Linked DNA regions of Homo sapiens: region 2 is linked to region 1. Evidence: promoter capture Hi-C in 16 types of primary human blood cells and fetal thymus (Javierre and others, 2016). All regions are on one chromosome and are shown on one strand. Each heading gives the region's core, a stretch centred on a gene start or on the middle of the fragment in contact. The rest is flanking DNA. Distances are from core to core; before and after follow the strand shown. Region 1 holds the start of ZIC4-AS1 (ZIC4 antisense RNA 1). Region 2 holds the start of LOC440982 (a long non-coding RNA gene).

Region 1 (4,672 bases), core at 1,522-4,021:
TTGCAATTGCGGCCAAAGGGAAAAAAATCAGGTCCTTTTTCCCCCCTCCCCCCATCTGCAGGGAGAATGCGGCTGCCCCAAAATCCTAGCTAAGACTTGAAGAAGTAAAGGAAAATAAAATAATAAAGCTTTGGCAGACTCATCTCAGTTCCCTAAGAATTTGAAAATCAGTGTGTGTGTATTGGGGAGGGAGGTAGGTTTTCTCTCTGGGGAGGGCCCCACAAAAGACCTCAATTTTAAAATCTGAGCCCAGCAAACAATTCCTGGCCCTGCCACTGATGAATTTTCTTCTGCTCTATCCTCTTCAGACGCAATTAGACAATTAGCACTCCTGCCCGCAGCCCCCACAACTTTCATCAGATGAAATAACATCCTAACTGGAGTGGAACTATTTTCATGACTCCAAATAAAAAATGCAGTCTTCCAAATACACCTTTAGTGAATCCGTCCTTGAGAAAGGGGGACTGAAATTCCTGCCTACACCTAATACAATAGGGCCCAGAGGCTGCCTGACCCAGCGCGGGCAGTCGGCAACAAACAACTCCTTCCCATAGTGAAACACCAACCCCACCACTAAGGTGCAGAGGGCATTTGCGGAACTTGCTGCTTCTGCCAATGTTTAAAAAGTCCCCCTTCCTGAAGTAGGACTTTTTTCTTTGTCTTCTGTTTCTAAGCTCCCCATTTTGCTTTCTATCTCAATCTAAAATAATGAAATAAAACAAAATGTTTGGTCGGCCACTAATCGCCTTTAATTTTTCATTTGCTTGTTACAGATGTCCACCGCGTTGCTCGCAAGGTAATCTCGCTCCGCGCAGCTGAGCGCCCCGCATCTCGCGCCTGCTACATCAAAGGGCCCGCGCACAAAGCAGTGTTTCTTCGCCACGGTGCATCTTCATGGTAAGTTAGGATTTCTATGGCAATGTGCAAGTCGCACTGAAATCCTGAAAGGCCAAGCCTGGAGCCCGTCCAGGCTTTTCATTAAGGACATAATATTTACGTCTAACAGACCTTTTTTCTTGTGTATACAAGTATATATTTTTGTTTGACGCGGACTAAATCATTTTCATTTAATTTCCGGTAAACAAAACCCACGCGAATGGGCACTTGTACCCGATCATAATAAAAATGGATAATAATGTGAAGGAAGAAAAGAGCCGCTTGAATCGCCGCTCAGCCCCCTTTGTTTCTGCTTTCTGCGGTGATCAGAGGGCGCGTTTGGGTTTGATGGCGAGTTTCTAAAGGCGAGGAAATGGTTTGTAAGAGGGGAAAGAAAAGGAGAAAGGTCTAATCAAGCTCGGGTTGTTCAAAGAGTCGGGTTTTGGGGTTGAAAGTGTGAGTTTGACGGTGCATCAGCATGCCGCGTTAGGCTCGCCATGGAAATACGCGCGGGGAGCGGCCGCTTCAAAGGCGGCACACTTCACTACAGACACTCTATTAAGATACATTTGCGCTGACCTTTGCTTTCACGCCATTTAATACTGTCACTGCGCTCTCCAGTATATACTTCCTTTCTAGAACCCGACTTGCCCACGTTTAGGGGTTCACTCTGCACCCTGATGTGGGAGGCTTTGGCGCAGGGGACACTTTCAGGAAAGGGAGGAGCACAAGGACTCTGTGCATCTTGACTGCACCCCAAAGAGGCTCCAGGATCAGGAGTGAAAGATTTTAAAGCAGCCTCCGAAGCTTAACAAATGAGCATTCCAAGCTCAGTTTTGTGCAAATCGCCTTTCTGACTCTTGAGTAGGATGGAGGCTTAAATTTAATGGCGACTTGGGGGGAAGGGAGCCACCCTGGGGGAGTCTGAGGAGTTCAGACTGTGCCCTTGGGAATTTCCACTCTGGCTTTCCGTGCCACTCTTCTTCCTTTCCATCCCAAAAGTCTCTTGCGGCCCCTGAAACTTGTTTCTTTCTAAGGCAGGGTGTGTGGTACCCTTAGGCCTGGACTAGTCCTAGATGCAAACTCAAGAGCCCAAGGCCAAGGGGATGTGGGGAAGATGGCAGGAAAGTTAGAAGTCCATGTTCCCTTAATTGTCTTGTTGTTTATTTTATCCAAGTACCCCAGTGAATAGGGGAAAAATAAACACAGTGAAAAAAAAAATCAAACAGTGGAGTCTTCTTTAGTGCCAGTCCTTGTGGTTGAATAAAAAGGATGGTCCGCTTTCTATTGAGCTGAGAAATCTTTGAAGTGGGAGTTATTATCTGAGACATTCCTGCTTGTCGTCCTAACAACGCTGATGAAACGTAAAAGGTTCTTTGTCAGCGATTTGTTCTCCTCTCTGTCAAACTCCCTCTGCCCCGTTAGTTTCAAACCGTTTCTAAAGAGATAAAAATCAAACTTCTTTTAAAACAATATCCACACACTGCATCAATACATAACTTTAGGTCTAAGTCTTGCTAAGGGATAAACAAAAGCAATGCCTAGACATCAGGGTCAGGGCCTGGTCTGGTGAAGTATGCAGAAGTTGGGGGGCCCTCGGGACAAGCTTTGGGACATGAGGAAAAGAATGCAGAGAGGGTGCAAGCAGAATACATACCCTAAGTCCATAATTGTGTTTCTGCTTCTTTCTGCTCTGGTTTGCATTCAATCAGCCCAAGTTGGGTCACATAGATGGGTTTCCTTTGGGTACCCCTCAGGCTCCTAATATTCTTGCCCAGGATCCTTGGAACTTAAGAATGCAGCCAAGCAATTGTTAATATCTCCTGCTCCTTCAAAGCCACCTCTGCTAAAAATAGACCCATTGTGTGTTTCTTCTCACTAGCAGCAATCAACAAGCCCTTTCTGCCGTTAATAAGAAGGAGAATAGCTGAAGGAGAGAGATATTTTATTAATTTCCTGTTTCCTTCAGAATCTTGGCAATTGAAGTTTAGAAGGTTTGGTCTACAACACAGTGATCGAAAATGCATGTAAATGCCCATCCTTCCCTTCATTCACGTGTGAAGTTGTTCATTTTATATTGTGCCCAGCAAAGAAACTTTCACCCAGTTCAGGTTTCCCCAAAACTCCTGTGGTGGTTTTAAAGGTGGTTTAAATAAATAAGGATGTGCTGGTCCCCCTACTCTGTGTGTGCTGAATAAATGGCTTGTAAAGAAGTTTTTCCAAGCTGTAACCCATGCTGTTATTATAGTTGCTGCAAAATGTTCTTCCTGATATTGATTTTATTTGTTAACTGAAGGTCTCCATATGTTTGTTTATATTGCTAATTTATGAGAAAATGTAATAATTGCAATGAATGTGAATTATACAGACAGGCAAACATTTTGTAATCATAATTCACATATACACAAAAGCCTGGCTGAAATCTTTAGACTATTTGTACCCTCTCTACCCACACTGTTTGTGATTTATCATCTGTCTCTTTAGTGTCAGTTAAATTATGAACTAACTTGAAAATAAAAGTTGTTTGACTGAAAGTGATTGTTGAATGAACAACAAAGTTGAAAGCCATGGCTTGATCTTGTAAATATATAAATGTAAATGATATTAAATCTGTGATTCCTTTTCCCTCCAAAGGCTTTTGTGTACATGGCGCTGCATTTGGCTATTTTCTTTGGAAATAAATAATGTGATGTTTCTCTTCCTCTTTTGAATCCTGGTGTCCTGTTATTGTTTCTTCATCCTGGACGAGATTCGAGGCCCTCCAGAAGCCTCCAATTCTCTCCTCAGTCTTTCTTCACCGCTTCACACAAATATCTCTGGGGGCCTAGTCTCAGGACAGCAAAATGGAGGGACCCCCTAAAGCAGCCATTGTGAGAAAGACTTCTCTCATCTCAATTTCACCCTAATGGCACTGACATCATCAACCAATTTATTAATACTTTATAGAATGGAAAAAGTTGAAAGGATCCTCTCAGTGTCTGCCAGGAAAGGCTACCTTTCTACATTTCCAGCTCAGAGCAACGTCAAATAACCACCCCTGAATTCCCAGAGAAAAGTCCAATAGCTGGTGGGAATCAAAACAAGGAAAGAAAAAGACAGGACAGTTCGGCTGTAAGACCTGAGTAAGCGCTGGTGGAGTGTCTGAGGCACAGTTGGCCGCAGAGATCTTCCTAGCTGGACCCTGCCCCCTCTGGGAGAAGTGATTGCTCAGACCTCAAGGCTCCATTCAGATACCTGCGCGAAGGCCTATGCCTGAAGACTGGGAGGCTACAGCCCACATGACACTTCCCTGGGCCCCGATTGAGATATCTGGTGAGTTTTAGCATCCGATGCACGCACACTCTTATCTGGCCCAGCCACTGGGAGACTTATTTCAAATGAATCACCAGAGCCATCTTCCCTCCTCCACTGCGTGGTCACTGGACCTCTAGATACCCGCATACATTGTTGCCTCTGCACCTACTGCTCAGGAGCCACCTCAGTGAGCAGTTCGCCTGACACTTTTTTTTTTTTTTAACTCCTGAGGAGTTGGTTCCCGTGGGCTTGGTTGGAGCAAGGGGCTGGATGGAGTGGGAAGACAACGACTCCTGGGGTGGGAATGCTGGGTCTCCTTAGATAACACACTAGAGACTCAACTCGTAGGGCAAGGGCTGCAGTCCTGGGTAAAACGTTGGGAGAAAGGATCCCGGCGCGCGAGAGACGCGCAGGTGTGATAAAGGAGGCCATGAGGGGAAACCAAGACATGTCCCTGAGAAAGGAGGTCCCTGGGCATTAACACTGGAGTTAGCGCCCCCTC
Region 2 (4,672 bases), core at 875-3,374, 33 kb before region 1:
GGCTTTGGTGTCAACAGGGCCAAGAGGATCCAGAAGAGTGGGCCTGCACTCTTTTCGCTCCCGCCTCACTGGGGAGCCCCGCGACATTCCTGACTACCCTGGAGCGTACGGCGTATAAACGTATACACCCCAGCGGCAGAGGCCGAACTAGCGCAGCAGTTCCAAATCAGCCCAACTTCTCAGCGCGCGCCTCAGGCCACGCGCGCGCACGCTGTCGCGGGCAGAGTCCGCTAGTAAGGTGGCGGGGCGGGGTAGGGGAGGAACGCGACTTACCAGGTCTGGGATCTAGATTTCGGGCAGAGTTGGTAGCTGAGAGGCCAGCAGACAGATTCAGTCATACCGGAGACGGGCAATTTGGGGAGGTCTACGGCGCGAGTGGAGGGAAAGGAAGGCACCAATGCGGTTTGGGTGTCCCCCTTCCCTTGGTCCATGCCCGCACTCCCGCCGCCGCCTCCACATACTAAGCTCGGCCTGGCCGGGAGAGGACTCAGAGCCCTCCTCGCCGCCATCCAGCCAGAGCCTCCGGCGCTCCCGGGCTCTGGCGCCGACCCCAGGGACGCCTAGGGGCGGGGAAGGGATGTCCCCACTCTCCAGCCCAGGAGAGGGTAACAGCGTTGCCGGCACGGACGCTAGCTGCCAAGCTGAGCAGCCGGACAAGTCCGCTGCGCCGGGCCGCTGGCTTGCAGACCCCGACCCTCTCCCGCCCCAGCCCCTCCCTTCCTCAAGCCCCTCGCCAAATGAAAAGGGTTCTTTGGGCCTTGGCCTTTTGGGGAAGACGCGGGAACCCACGCTGAGTTTGAGTTTTCTGTTCAGAGCAAGGCCCACACAGGTCATCGTTAGCTTGGAGTCCTTAGAGTCTAGATAGCCCACTCCCCACAATACTCAAACACAAAGGGACCCAAATCACGAATGGGTTTCTTCTGGAGTGGTCCCTGTGGCGGGGGTTTGGAGGAACGAGGGTTTCTGCGCCCCTGACTAGACGCTGGGAGCCCTGGCTTCCGGGACCTAGGACAGAACTCGAACCCTCATGCCCCGGCCACTTTCTTCCTAGTCATGAGTAGTGAGGGGTGAGTGGCTTCTGCCAGGCCTCTGTGGGCCTAGCACTCGGTGGCAGTGGGTGAGGGTCGTTGAGTCCGGCAAAGAGACATGGAGCAGACGCTCTTCAGCCATCCTTGCGTTATTGAGCTCGGAGACTCGGGAGTTTGGGTAGGAAAAAAGGCACTGTCCTGGCAGGAACATTTCCAAAGCCTCCCTCCCTGCGTCCTCAGGTTCCACGCTGAAGGCTTGGGGAGTGGTAGTTGTCGGGTGAACTGATACTGTGGTCCCGGTATTCCAAAACTGGCACAGATGGAACTGGCCCTGGGATAGACTGCAGTGTGAGCCCGGCACTGACCTAGGCATCCTGTTCCCAGTGAGGGAAATGAAATGATAAGCTCCACAAAGTGGGTCTACCTGTTCAAATGAAAGTAAAAATCTAGAGTAGGATTGGAATCTGTCGGCAACCACTTCTGATGTTATGGGACCCAGGATTCTTACTAAAACACCCAAAGGCTGTAGATGTTAGTCGGTCAGAGGTTAGAGTGACCCAGGGACCCTCTGTTGCCCCTCCCCTTTGTTTACAAGCGTTGGCCACTCCACCTAGAAAGATTATACGCTCACTCTGGAAATGTCAGCACATTGGCCACAAAATACCATGCAGATCCCCAAGGACTTCACTAGAGAGGAAAGCAATAATCCAGCGACTGAACCCAGGTGTCTCTCACCAAACCCTACCCTTTCTGGTCTCTAGGCCAGGGCAGTTCCTCCACCAGTCCCGACGTTTGCGCTACCTAAGCACGTTTGGATTTAACAGGACCATTTCAACTCCAAGACAGGCAAGCTGACTGGTATTATTTGCAAAGGGTCAAGTGGAAACCCTAGAACAGTCATTCAAGCAAATGGCTCCTAGTATCTCAAATGGGGCGGTGGGAGGCTGGGGAAATGCCAGAGAGCAAGAGGAAGTAGGAGAAAAGAGTGGGAGAGAGAGGCGGAAAGACAAAGACAAGCCGGCACCCAGACTTGGATCTGGGCAAGGGATGAGGGAAGGGCCTAGGGAACCTCCCCCAAGCCGCTGCCCGGTCACCTGGGGCCTGAGCTCTGACTAGGGGTAGGCTAAGTCTTCTCCGAGGGGCTAGGGATATGAGAACAGCCGGGGCGGCAGCTCGGGCTTGGGAAAGGATAAGAGAAGAAGGCCTCCCTGGTAGGCCCGGTGTAAACTGGAAGCCCAGCCACCCGATGCACTGGGGTGTGGCCGGCTGGGGCTCGAGCACCATGCAGCCCCCGGCCCTCGGCGGAGAGGCCCTGACAGGCCCGCTCAACTCGCCGTTCCAATGGCAGCAGCCCCAGGTTGCTCTACCCTCTGCTGTCGGCTCCGCAGTGTGAACTCACTTAAACCAGCGCGGTTTGAAAACAAACACGTGCAGCTACCCCGCCGCACTATTTTGGGAGCCTAGCCAGCGACTTTCACAGGCCGGAGCCTCTGCTTGGTTCTCTCTCTAGCCCGCGAGGGCGGGGGAGTCTCATGCATATTCATCAGCACGTGGAACCTCGGGCCACAGGCCGCGCATGCGCACATCTCGCCCTGCCCGGCCAGAGCCTGCCGCGACGATTTGGAAAGCGCCCCGCCAGGCTGCGGGGTGGCGGGAGGGTCCCTCAAACGCTGACGACCCAGCCTTCGGTGGAGGTGTTGTGGGGAAGTCTCGCTGTTGCACCCCCTACACCTACCCCCGAAGACTGTTTCCATGCTTTCAATAAATCCACCAATGCAAAAATTTCCCTTTACGCACTCCATCCCACCCCTGTCCTTTCTCCACAACTTTCAGTTTTCTTAGTCAGAGGCTAGCATTTTCGCGGATGAATGGAAAATGTTTAAAAAGGAATCGCGATGCGAGCTTCTCTCACCGTTTGTGTTCCCGCTTACTGTAACTTCATGGACATTGTTACACAAAAGAAAGACGTAAAATAACAATTTTTTAAAGTTTGCTAAGGTCGGACGGCTTGGGTTTGCTTGCTATTGTTGTTTTTAAAGATGTGATTCCAATATGTTTATACCCACGCTCAATAGTTGATTCTTGTGTGTGCCATAGGTGAAAATGTCACTGCGTAACTTTCACAACCGGTGGATTTTCCTGGATATGCTTACAGAGATGTCTGACAACCATCAGAGGCAGCCAAAGTATTGTGGACAGTTGACACAATGTCAGTCTGTGGCATCTTCACTGCCAAGTGATATTTCCACTCTAGATAGCTAAACCCGATTTTTTAAAAACTCACCTTTGGTATATAACATCAGTTGGAAACTTCACACTGTTTTAGTTCTTCACTCTAAAGTGGATATCAACTTTAGTAACTGATGACAGATCCCAGCTTCCACAGTAAAAATAGCCTCTGGTTTGGCCTGATGTGTTTCCTCTTGCTAAGGAAGGGACTCTGGAGCAAACCAGCCTTGCATAGATTTAAGGAGAACATTATTCATATTTTGCACCTATTACACCATTGTATTTGCAATAAACTTTAAGGAAAAGGATTGAATGTGACATAAGAAGTTAACATTTTTTGTATTTCTTGCCCCAAAATAGTGCTTATCATTTTTTAAAAATTGCTATATGGTTACCCATAATAATCTTACTTTCTATATCTAACTAGTTTAAATGGTACATATTACAGAGGATGGACAGTGTGGTTAAAAGCCGAAAGAGAGACTATCGTGGCTAACTTGTACCTTTAGCGGCTTGACGGCACAGACAAGATCAATCTTTCCATTGCCAACACTATTTTCAATAATTCTAAAACAGTTGATATCAACTGTGACTATCTTTATGAAAATGCTTTTCCCCACAAATACGAACACATGATTCTAAGAACTACACTTGATGCTACAAGGAAGCCAGAACTCTGTACCTAGAGAGGAGGAGATAAATTTGTAATCGGTATTATAAGTTGGAAAAAGAAAAGAAATGTAACTTGGGAATGTGTAAGAGCTGATGTCTTTATATCTAGTCCACAGCCAAGGGCACAAGTTCCTTTATTTTGAGTGTGCCAGACCACCTGCAGTAACTCCTCATAACATCTTAAACTAAATCTTCTCTTTAAGGTCTAGGGCCTTCTCCAACTCACTTCCTGAAAAGCAGTATGCTCAGGTAACAACTCCAACAGCACCGACTCACAAGGGGTCCTAGACACTGATTTAATGTTGGCCTCAAAAAGAAAACTTCTGGAAGCTTTTGGGGCTAGGTGAGGTACTTGAGGGTATAATTCTCTGGCCAGCCCTTTAAAAGTTCTGAGAAAACTTCACAATAAAAGCATCTAAATGCCAGGCCTATCAGCAAAGAAGGTTAGTGCTACTTTCATTGTCAGGAAAAAAAAAAAATAAGAAAGAAAGAAAAAAAAAAGATAAGCAGATGGGGCAATTGAAAGGTTACATCTTTCTTTTGGAGGTGGTTTGCTTTTTAAAGGTTAACTTGAATGCTTGACTTTAAAAAATCAAAATCATCAGCTGCAAACGCTTAAAGCAGTTGGGGGTAGCTTTTGAAGAAGAAAACAAAGGATCTGAAATGTTTGAAATTACTTAGCCCCCATATAAATGGTGCTTGTATATTTATATGCTTGCTCTACAAATGCACACACACACATA

Evidence for each region. Contacts are between HindIII fragments. The CHiCAGO score rates a contact against its expected background, and 5 or more counts as called.
Region 2: a fragment that was not itself captured here is called in contact with the fragment with the promoter of ZIC4-AS1 in region 1 in 1 of 17 cell types (fetal thymus); the score reaches 5.4 in fetal thymus.

The regions. Positions count from the first base shown.
Region 1 is chr3:147,384,961-147,389,632 of GRCh38, reverse strand. ZIC4-AS1 (ZIC4 antisense RNA 1) reads right to left here and starts at 2,771. Exons shown (of 2, transcript NR_046703.1): 1 at 2,534-2,771; 2 at 727-2,314. ZIC4 (Zic family zinc finger 4) reads left to right here. Exons shown (of 5, transcript NM_032153.6): 5 at 774-3,587. The coding sequence ends at 774. The HindIII fragment of the contact is 2,882 bases long and covers 2,485-4,672 here.
Region 2 is chr3:147,417,161-147,421,832 of GRCh38, reverse strand. LOC440982 (a long non-coding RNA gene) reads right to left here and starts at 506. Exons shown (of 3, transcript NR_121655.1): 1 at 274-506. RefSeq lists enhancers at 669-1,597, 2,536-2,685. The HindIII fragment of the contact is 4,275 bases long and covers 1-4,261 here.